Linked DNA regions of Homo sapiens: all the other regions are linked to region 2. Evidence: promoter capture Hi-C in 16 types of primary human blood cells and fetal thymus (Javierre and others, 2016). All regions are on one chromosome and are shown on one strand. The core of a region is centred on a gene start or on the middle of the fragment in contact, and the rest is flanking DNA. Distances in the headings are between cores, read along the strand shown.

Region 1 (2,700 bases), core at 134-2,633, 250 kb before region 2:
CATCATATCGGCCAGGCTGGTCTCAAACTCCTGACCTCGCGATCCACCCGCCTTGGCCTCCCAAAGTGCTAGTATGACAGGCGTGAGCCACCGAGCCCAGCCAATTTGTGCCTTTTTATCCTAAAAAATATTTCCATGTCTCTGGCTGGGCATGGTGGCTCACGCCTATAATCCCAGCACTTTGGGAGGCCAAGGCAGGTGGGTCTCTCGAGGTCAGGAGTTCAAGACCAGCCTGGCCAACATGGTGAAACCCCATCTCTACTAAAAATATAAAAATTAACCAGACATGGTGGCTCACACCTGTAATCCCAGCTACTTGGGAGGCTGAAACAGAAGAATCACTTGAACCCAGGCAGCAGAAGTTGCAGTGAGCTGAGATGGTGCCACTGCATTCCAGCCTGGGCGACAGAGTGATTCTGTCTCAAAAAAAAAAAAAAGAAAGAAATATTTGTGGATCTCAAAGTTGCAAAGATATTCTCTTAGGTTTTCCTCTAGAAGCTTTACAATTTTAGCTCTTAAATTTTAGGTCTGCAATCCATCTAAAATATAGCATATATAGAGGTAGGCATTGAGGCTTATTTTTTCCCCATATGGATGCTTTAGCATCCAAGTGTTTTAGCGCCATTTATTGAAGAGACTTTCCTTCTCCATTGTGTTTACTTTGGCATACTCGTCAACATAAGTGTGTGAAAGATATATGCGTGTGTGTGATTGCATGCAACACATGTATGTGGTCTATTTTATGCCAAAGTGATAAATGCATGGGAGTCTATTTCTGGACTCTATTCTGTTCCATTATTTGTCTGCCCTTTCAGCAGTACCAGACTGTCTTGATTACTATGGTTTTATTTATTTTATTTTTGAGACAGGGTCTCACTCTGTCGCCCAGGCTGGAGTGCTGTAGCACAATCTCAGCTCATTGCAGCCTCTGCCTCCCAGACTAAAGTGATCCTCTCACCTCAGTCTCCCAAGTAGCTGGGGCTACAGGCGCATGCTACCACACCTGGCTAATTTTTCTGTCTTTTGTAGAGACGGGGGTTTCGCTATGTTGCCCAGGCTGGTCTCAAACTCCTGGGCTCAAAGGATTCACCAGCCTTGGCGTTCCAAAGTGCTGGGGTTACAGGCATGACCCACCAAGCCTGGCTGATGATTACTATAGTTTTAGAACAGGCATATGTTTTTTTGTTTGTTTGTTTGTTTTTGTTTTTGAGACACAGTCTTGCTGTGTCACCCAGGCTGGAGTGCAGTGGCATGATCTCAGCTCACTGCAACCTCCGCCCCTAGGTTCAAGTGATTCTCGCGCCTCAGCCTCCCAAGTAGCTGAGATTACAAGCACCCACCACCACGCCTGGCTAATTTTCGTACTTTTAGTAGAGACAGACTTTTGCCATGTTGTCCAGACTGGTCTCAAACTTCTGACCTCAGGTGATCAACTCACCTTGGCCTCCCAAAGTGCTGGAATTACAGCAATGAGCCACCGCACCTGGCCTAGAACAGGCATATGTATATTGAATGCTGATGATACCAAAATGCTCTCTCAAAAAGTTGTATAAATTTGGCCGGGCATGGTGGCTCACATCTGTAATCCCAGCACTTTGGGAGGCCAAGGTGTGTGGATCACCTGAGGTCAGGAGTTCGTGACCAGCCTTGCCAACATGATGAAACCCCGTAAATTAGCCAGGTGTGGTGGTGGGCACCTGTAATCCCAGCTACTTGGGAGGATGAGGCAGGAGAACCGCTTGAACCTGGGAGGTGGAGGCTGCAGTACCTGGGAGGTGGAGGTTGCAGTGAGCCAAGACTGAGCCATCACACTCCAGCCTGGCCAACAAGAGTGAAACTGTCTCAAAAAAAAAAAAAAAAAGTTGTATAAAGTCACACCACTGCTAACAGTGTATCAGTGTTGGCTTCCCCTCTCTTACCAGCATGGGGTATTATCAACCTTATAAATCATGGGATCAGGTCTTAGTCACTGCTGTGTCCCCATCACTTAACCCTGTGCCTGGTGCACAGCTGCTAAGCCAGTGTTTGATGAATGAATAACATGAGGCTTTAGCATATCTATAAATATGCCAACACTCATTCAGATGCCCTGGTAGGTAACAAAGATAAGGCCATTAAATTAAACTCCAGGCAGCCAGGTGCAGTGGTTCACGTGCCCAGCCGCTCACACTTATATACCATATTTCCTTGAATGAGTGGGGTTTTGACACCCAATGTATTTCATGATGCTGGCCCGAAAGACTGGGGGCATTTTGCTTTAAAGCTTTAGTTTAGAAATGGCAAACAGCAGCTTAACTTAACCATAAAAGGACAAAGCCCCACAAAGGTCTTTTGGGGGAGGACTTTACCTTGTGTAAATGCCAAGGAGTCCAAATGGTCCTAGTTCCTAACTGGAGCCAACATGTCAATATAGATCTGCACCAAAAACAAATGTCCATGGCACCAGTCTTCATTAGGTAGGCCCAATTAATTTATTTTTGGGTTTCTTTTTTCATTTGGTTTAAAGATGTGGTCTTGCTCTGTTACCCAGGCTAGAGTACAGTGGTGTGATCATAGCTTACTGCAGACTTCAACTCTTGGGCTCAAACCATCTTCCTGCCTCAGGAAGTAGTCTCGGGTAGCTAGGACTACAAGTATGCACCACCATGCCCGGCTAATTATTTTATTTTTGTAGAGACTTGGTCTCACTATGTTGCCCAG
Region 2 (2,700 bases), core at 97-2,596:
AGATGATATGGCTGTTGCTGGTCCAGGAACCACATTTTGAGAACCACTGTTCTAAATGACTACCGAGTCCTGCAGGTTTGTCTTCAAATCTTTTAAGTGCTGTTTTCCTTGCCTTCCCTCGCCTGACTGCTCCACGTTTTAGCTACAATGGCTTTATTTCGAACCCCGGATCCCGCTTCCCATCTCAACGCTTTTACAGGAGCTGTCGCCCCTGCCTGGGCTGCTCTTGCCATATCTTTCCTCGCCTAGCATCTGCCATCAATCCGGCCTCAGCGGGAACGGCGCCTGCTTTTCCGAGTTTTGTTTGTTTCTTTGTGTTAAAGGCAGCCGCTAGGCCGCGCTCCACCCCAAGCCCAGTGGCTCAGGAGCATTGCCCGGTTAAGGTCTACACAGTCCTCGCCCTTACAGACAGCGGGGTCTGCGCCTCGTTGTCGGGTTCCCCGCTATAAACCCGACTGCAGTAGGCGTTGGCGGAATGAACGGAAAGTTCTCCCTGGCTCATTTTTCTACCCACGGACAGGGCTGGCTGTTCCCAGGGACGTGTGCCATCGCCGTTTGCTATCGCCCTTCTTGCCATCTCATTCAAGCTCACGGCCGAGAAGTTTTTCTTGAAGTAGGCCCTAAACCCCGCCCGGCCCCAGCGCTCCCCGTCACTCCCCCGCCGCCCGTCGCCTGGGAAGGGCGCGGGCCTCACCTGAGGGCCCAGGGCCGCGAGGCGGAAGCCCAGCCCTGGTCTTGCGCGGCCGAACTCACCTCAGCATGTCGGGCTCGGCGAGGCCCAGGCGCGGGGCTAGGCGCCCGATCAGCTCCGACCCCATGGCGCCGGCACTAAAGCGAACAATTCCCGTGAACGCCGCGGGTCAACGAAACCCGCGCGCAAAGGCTGCACCGGCCAGTGAGAGCCAGGCCCCACCCCCGGCGCATCTGGATTGGTTAGGACAGGACGTTGAGACCGTCCCACAAACCAATCAGGGTCTTCCTTTTGCGCATGCGCATCAATAGCGCAATCGCCAACGCAGATGCGGTGAACGTGGACTTGTCGGCTCCCCCTCCTTCCATTCCTTCTTGACAAACTCATCACACACTGCCTTTCCCTCCTGTTGTCTCCTGCCTGCCGCCGGGCGATCCCCACTGCCCTGCACTGCTCCGCCCACTCTCGCACGCTGTGGTGAGATTGGCTGGCGCTCAGGTCCGTCCATCTAGCGTTAAGTGACAGGGCCAATAAGCACGCGAGACTCGGGTTCCTAGAAGTAGGCCAATCAATGAGCCGCCTGTAGGGCCCGGGGGCGGGGCTAGAGAGGGCGGGGCTTGGAGGGGCCGCAGCGTCACATGACCGCGGGAGGCTACGCGCGGGGCGGGTGCTGCTTGCTGCAGGCTCTGGGGAGTCGCCATGGTGAGTGCTGAGGGGGCAGTGGCACCTGGGTCGACCCTCCTTGTAGCCCCTGCTCTCTCCCACCGCCCCGCACTCCAGCGAGTGGAGAAGGGGCCCCACAGACCGTTCGGGATTAAGACCAGCCCGATTTGGCCTGCGGGATAGGGGACAGCAGGAGGAAGGCCGCGGGCAGGCTGATCCGGGCCGGGGTGGGCGGCGGCTCTTGGCTGCGGCCGTTGCTGAGAGACGGGGCGGCCTCTCTGTGGGGTTGACTTGGCATGTAGGCTTTGGGGTCCATGAAGGCCTGCGGCCTCCTTTAAGTGGAATCGGTCACCTGCCTACCACGAGGGGACCGGTAGTCCTAGGTCTGAGCGTCTGGCCCCCGGGGCGCGTGGAGGCCCTGAGACTCGGAGGTGGCGCCGGGACCCGCCCAGATGTTGCGTTTCTACCTTTGTGCCTAGTTGTGCTCGGCCGTCCCCACGCCCTCCTGGAGGGGTCGCAGTGATTCCTTGGCCTTTCTTGGCCTCATACCCGCCTTCGGCTGCAGTGTTTGTCAGCGAGTTCTGGGGACCTGCTTACATGAATTTCCTGGAAGGACTCAGGCTGTCTTCTAATCCTGACGGTCGCAAAGGAGACTGATTGTTTACTTTAGCATTTGTGCATTGGGCGCACCTTGCCTCTTTTGTCTCGCCATTGATAAAATCCAAGTATTTGACTTGCTGGAAGCAGTACTTCTCCTTAGGGCCCGTCTATGACGGCAGCAAATCGTGGTGTGGCTGTTGGCCGGTAAACTTGAACTTCCTCAAAATGTGAATCTTTGTGTCTGGTTCCCACAAAGGCAAGTTGTCACTTGCATTTTATTAGCGTTTAACATAGCCTGCACTGTGTAAATAAATTTTTTGAGTATATACTGTATGTCCGCTTTAATTACCTTACTCACTCTGTGTAGATAGGCTTCTGTAAATCTGTAAGCCTGGAAACAGATTTCACTTTAAATGTCTTAATGCCAGAAAGGATTAAGTGTTTTACAAATACTATTTTCATATAACGTGTTGCCGTACAAGGTGATTTTGCCTGTTTCTCAGGATTTTTATAATTGGGAATTGATACAAGACCGGCGCAAAATTTAACTTTAGGATTTGTGTGTTTCCAGCGTTTATGGATTGACATTTATATTGTTTTGTAATGGAAAACACTTAATTGAGGATGTATTACACACTCCGATTCTTTGTTGGGTGAACCAGTTGGGAGCAATCAGCCAGACACACAGTCTTGTCCTCATGAATTTTATTGGGAAAGGAAACTTGAGTATTCGTTCTTTCACAGTC
Region 3 (2,700 bases), core at 118-2,617, 140 kb before region 2:
CGCCATTGCACTCCAGCCTGGGGGACAAGAGTGAGACTTCGTCTCAAAAAAAAAAGATAAATAAATAAATAAAAAATCTGTTTTACTTGTAAAACATACAAACAACCTAAATCTTTTTTTAAAAAAGTGAATTAATGCCCAGTAAACTATCAGTAAACAATACTTTGAATATTTTCTTTTTTTTAAAATCCTGAAAGTGTAATATTAGAATTTCAGTACTGTTAGGTTTAGTATTATCAACTGAAATTTAAAGAAACTTTAGTGTGTTTGTTTAAAATCTAAATTATACTATAATTAATGAAATGAGGTTAATATTACTGAAGTTGTCCAACCTATTTGATAATTCTTTTTACAGGATCTAGGGTGGTGATGGTGGTGGTGGTGTGTTTTTTGTTTTTTGTTTTCCAGGGCAGAGGTTGTGGGGAAGGAACTTTTTATTTTAAATAGGACTATAGAATGAATTAACTCAGACTATAGAATGAATTAACTCAAACTATAGAATGAATTAACTCAGGCACATGAGGGTTTATTGAGCATAAAACACTTTCATTTGTGGATGAAAATCAACCTGTTAATTCAGTTAGTCAGTGTTTGTGCATTCTGGGTCCCAAAGCCAAATGTATACTTCTCATCTAACTGCAACACTGTTAATTCTGGAGATGGATTGATATGAAGTTCTTTTGTATAAGACTGAAACCCAAATTCAAATTTATTGAGTTTCAGTAGCTGGAAGAAAATGCTTGCTGATTAGGAAAGGAGCTGTTGAGTAAGAACATGCATTTGCGTATTTTGGATAGCATTAATTTAAAACAATTTACATTACTGTGGATGCCCTTAATAATATGTTTAGGTGTAAAGGAAATGAGTCAGTGCCTTTGAGCTTGGTTTCTATGAAGATACGAAATTTGAAAAAATGTCAGACATCTATTTTAGACAGATTTTACACTATTTAAAAAATGTAGCATTTTTTTTGTCGTGATTTGAAGGGATCTCATTACATTCTTAACAAAGCAAGCTGTTAGACAAATCTGGAGTTTGATTATTTTTATTGATTTCTTTGTTATTTTTCTTAAATACAAATTGGAGATCCTTTGTTCAATGTTTTTATACAAAGAAAAGGAATTATTCTGCCAAAATTTCAATTTAGCTCAATTAGATCAAGTGTTTAGATTCTATAACATGAGGCATTCTGTACATACATAGATAAAAAGCTTCATAATTTTAACTCAGTTTTTACATAGCAGAACAACTGCCAAATGGGGGAATTTATCTTACAAAGGGAATTGCAGTTTTCTTACTGTAATTATTCTGTAAATACTTTTTCGTTGAGATTAGTTTCAGACTTTTGGTGAACATGTCTTGATTCCAAGGATCATTAACTTTGATATGGGTGAAATGATTATGGGGAAAACTAAAAAATTTTTTCAATGATTTTCAGTAGCACTTGGCTTAAAAAACAGTTATAAGTTTGGAGTAGAGAAAGGAAATTTACGTATTTTGCAGATTTGGAAACAGAAGCTTGAAGATCTTAAATATCTTGTCCGGAGTCATTCCTGGAACTAAGATATAAGATTCTGGATCTAAATTCCTACCTTCTCCTACATTCTCTTTTTTTATGTCAGCATACTTTTGCCCCTCAAACTGGTTGTTGTTAGAAAGAATAAGACCTAATATTTGATAGCACAACAGGGGGACTATAGTTAATAATAATTTTTTTTTTTTTTTTTTTTGAGACAGAGTCTTGCTCATGTTGCCCAGGCTAGAGTGCAATAGTGCACTCTTGGCTCACTGCAACCTCTGCCTTCCAGGTTCAAGCGATTCTCCTGCCTCAGCCACCCAAGTAGCTGGGATTACAGGCATGTGCCATGACGCCTGGCTAATTTTGTATTTTTTTTAGTAGGGACGGGGTTTCACCATGTTGGTCAGGCTGGTCTCAAACTCCTGACCTCAAGTGATCCACCTGCTTCGGCCTCCCAAAGTGCTGGGATTACAGGTGTGAGCCACTGCGCCCAGTCCTATAGTCAATAATAATTTAATTGTACATTTAAAAATAACTAAAAGAGTATAGATTGTTTGTAACAAAAAGGAAGAATGCTTGAGGGGTTGAATACCCAATTTTCCATGATGTGATTGTTACGCATTGCATGTCTATATTAGTGTACCCCATAAACATGTACACCTACTATCTACCCACAACAATTTAAGAATTTAAGAAAAATCTGGTTGCTATAAACTATTCTTTATTCTTTGTCAGTGGTAGTTGATATCTTCTCCTCTCATGTTAGAATCCTGAGTTATTTTCACTTCTTCCCACTTTATCACCAGTCATCAGTTTGGGCCTTTGTCTGTTTTTCTTGCCTTGGAAACTCTGGCAGATCTACCTTTTTCCATTTCCGTTCTCACTATTCCACTTGGTCCTTCATAATCTTTTACCAGGATTACTTTAATGACTTCCTACCCACTCACCCTTTTCAAATTTGTTCTATACCGTAAAAAGCTGTCAAACTAACATTTTAGGAAATGCTACCTTTTTTTCCACATACTTCCCCTTGCTCTGACCCTATTACAGTTTTCTATTGGTCACTCACATCAGTGCATATTTAATACATATTTATTTTTTATGGTATTGGTATGGTATAGTCTTCATGGTTTTGTTAAGCAGTAGAAGAATATGAGTATCAGGCCGGGTGTGGTGGCTCA
Region 4 (2,700 bases), core at 81-2,580, 190 kb before region 2:
TATTTTTCTTATGGATGTTTGGGTAGATTAGGAAGTCTGAAAGCATCAACACTCTATTGTTGTGTGTGTGTGTTTGTGTGTGTGTTTTGAGATGGGGTCTCCCTCTATCATCCAGGCTAAAGTGCAGTGGCATGATCATCTTACTAGATCCTCAAACTCCTGGACTCAAGCCATTAACCCTCCTCAGCCTCCCAAGTAGCTGGGTCTACAGCTGCATGACACCATGCCTGACTGTTGTTAATGGTGGTTATCTTTGAGTGGTGGGATTATTGGTAACTAATTTTTCTTTTTGTTTAATGTACTTTCAACGTTTTAAGAAATTTTTAAAATAATAAATAAATTTTAAAAAAGAAACCTAGAATGGTCATATGATCTAGCAATTCCATTTCTGGGTATATCACGAAAGAATTGAAAGCTGAGACTTGAACAGATAATTATAAACTAATGCTCATTATGGCATTATGGCAACTGCTAAAAGGTGGAAACAACCCAAATGTCCATTGACAGATGAATGGGTGAACAAAATGTGGTATATATACACAAGAAATATTAGTCAGGCCTGATGTGGTGGCTCACACCTGTAATACCAGTACTTTGGGAGGCTGAGGCAGGCGGATCACGAGGTCAGAAGTTCAAGACCAGCCTGGCCAACATGGTGAAACCTCGTCTCTACTAAAAATACAAAAATTAGCCAGGCATGGTAGCGCATGCCTGTAATCCCAGCTACTCGGGAGGCTGAGGCAGGAGAATTGCTTGAACTCGGGAGGTGGAGGTTGCAGTGAGCCAAGATTGTGCCACTGCACTCCAGCCTGGGCGACAGAGCAAGACTCTGTCTCAAAAAAAAAAAAAAAAAAGAAATATTAATCAGCCTTAAAAAGGAAGGAAATTGTGACACATACCACAACACAGATGAAACTTAAAGACATTATGTAAAGTGAAATACACCAGATATAAAAGGATAAGTATGTATGATTCCACTTATTTGAGGTACCCAGAATAGGCAAATACATAGAGACAGAAATTTAAATATAGGTTACCAGCCAGGTGTGGTGACTCACACCTGTAATCCCAGCACTTAGGGAGGCCACAGCAGACAGATCCCTTGAGCCCAGGAGTTTGATATCAGCCTGGGCAAAATAGTAAGAACCTATCTCTACCAAAAATAAAGTAAATAAATAATAAATTAAAATAGAGGTTACCAAGGGCTGGGGGGAGGCGGAATGGGGAGTTACTGTTTCTTGTGTTTTTTTTTTGTTTTTTTGTTTTTTTTTTTGAGACAGAGTCTCGCTCTGTCGCCCAGGCTGGAGTGCAGTGGCACAATCTGGGCTCACTGCAACCTCCGCCTCCTGGGTTCAAGTGATTCTCCTCCGTCCGAAGTAAATGGGACTACAGGTGCATGCCACCATGCCTGGGTAATTTTTTGTATTTTTAGTGGAGACGGGGTTTCACCATGTTAGCCAGGATGGTCTCCATCTCCTGAACTTGTGATCCGCCTGCCTCAGCCTCCCAAAGTGCTGGTATCACAGGCATGAGCCACCGCACCCTGCTGGGAGTTACTGTTTAATGAGTACATAGTTTCAGTTTGCAACATGAAAACGTTCTGGAGATGAACAGTGGTTATGGTTGCATAATGTGGATGTATATAATGTCACTGAACTGTACACCCCCAAATAGTTAAAATAGAAAATTTTATGTACATCTTACCATATTATAATATGAATAAGGATTTCCTGTGTGATGGAAGATAATTTAAAAAGAGAAAGAGTGTAAATCTTAGAGTGTTTGTGGCCTTTTTCAGAGATGGCGACTGAGCAGTTTCTGGGGGTGTTAGAAGGTATTTGGGTATTTGCTTGGAATCTCCCTCCAACTCCTACATTTTAGTTAGCTTTAATCCTTGTCCTTCGTGTTTTTCTTTTTTTTGAGATGGAGTCTCGCTCTGTCGCCCAGGCTGGAGTGCAGTGGCCCAATCTTGGCTTACTGCAAGCTCCGCCTCCCCGGTTCACGCCATTCTCCTGCCTTAGCCTCCCAAGTAGCTGGGACTACAGGTGCCGCCAACACACCCAGCTAATTTTTTGTATTTTTAGTAGAGATGGGGTTTCATCGTGTTAGCCAGGATGGTCTTGATCTCCTGACCTCATGATCTGCCCGCCTCAGCCTCCCAAAGTGCTGGGATGACAGGCATGAGCCACCACGCCTGGCCCATGTTTTTCTTTCTAAATGAAGGCCTCATTTTTTTTTGTTTGTTTGTTTTTACATAGAGACAAGTTTTTGCCATGTTGCCCAGGCTGGTCTTGAACTCCTGGACTCAAGGGATCCGCCCGCCTTTGCCTCCCAAAGTGCTGGGATTACAGGTGTGAGCCACTGTGCCCGGCCTTCTTTTTTTTTTTTTTTAATTTAAGTCAGGCTCAAGTTTTTAGGGGATGGTCAGGGAAATTTCGTTGAGATCCTACTTGCTCTGAGTCTCCTTGAAGCAAATCATTGCCTCTAACAAGCAAATATTAGTTTAGGTGAGCTAATAGCCGGGACACATGTATCCCAATGCTCTCACCATGACGTTCAAAGTGGATTAAAGATAAACTTATGATACTAAGCTAAGCTATACACAAACAAGGGACACATTCTTATGTAACTTACAGAGGTTAAAACTGAGTAAAGACATTTTACAAAAGTGGTGTTTACAATTCAGTACTGCATTGATAA

The links. The method cuts DNA at HindIII sites, captures the fragments that hold promoters and counts their contacts. A CHiCAGO score of 5 or more calls a contact.
Region 1: a contact is called between a fragment that was not itself captured here and the fragment with the promoter of VPS35 in region 2, in 1 of 17 cell types (naive CD4 T cells). The highest score is 5.2, in naive CD4 T cells.
Region 3: a fragment that was not itself captured here is called in contact with the fragment with the promoter of VPS35 in region 2 in 16 of 17 cell types (megakaryocytes, erythroblasts, fetal thymus and 13 more); the score reaches 15.6 in megakaryocytes.
Region 4: a contact is called between a fragment that was not itself captured here and the fragment with the promoter of VPS35 in region 2, in 3 of 17 cell types (naive CD4 T cells, naive B cells and naive CD8 T cells). The highest score is 6.5, in naive CD4 T cells.

The regions. Positions count from the first base shown.
Region 1 is chr16:46,938,484-46,941,183 of GRCh38, reverse strand. No RefSeq gene overlaps it. Among named protein-coding and RNA genes, the nearest start is that of DNAJA2, 34 kb to the left of the region's middle. The HindIII fragment of the contact is 1,765 bases long and covers 501-2,265 here.
Region 2 is chr16:46,687,824-46,690,523 of GRCh38, reverse strand. VPS35 (VPS35 retromer complex component) reads left to right here and starts at 1,346. Exons shown (of 17, transcript NM_018206.6): 1 at 1,346-1,393. The coding sequence starts at 1,391. ORC6 (origin recognition complex subunit 6) reads right to left here and starts at 865. Exons shown (of 7, transcript NM_014321.4): 1 at 754-865. The coding sequence starts at 818. RefSeq lists enhancers at 42-111, 162-241, 479-1,177, 1,178-1,875 and silencers at 582-881, 1,202-1,441, 1,592-1,641. The HindIII fragment of the contact is 9,040 bases long and covers 1-2,700 here.
Region 3 is chr16:46,824,945-46,827,644 of GRCh38, reverse strand. The region is part of intron 1 of C16orf87 (chromosome 16 open reading frame 87); the gene reads left to right. Among named protein-coding and RNA genes, the nearest start is that of C16orf87, 4.9 kb to the left of the region's middle. The HindIII fragment of the contact is 307 bases long and covers 1,214-1,520 here.
Region 4 is chr16:46,876,702-46,879,401 of GRCh38, reverse strand. No RefSeq gene overlaps it. Among named protein-coding and RNA genes, the nearest start is that of GPT2, 6.3 kb to the left of the region's middle. The HindIII fragment of the contact is 2,979 bases long and covers 1-2,700 here.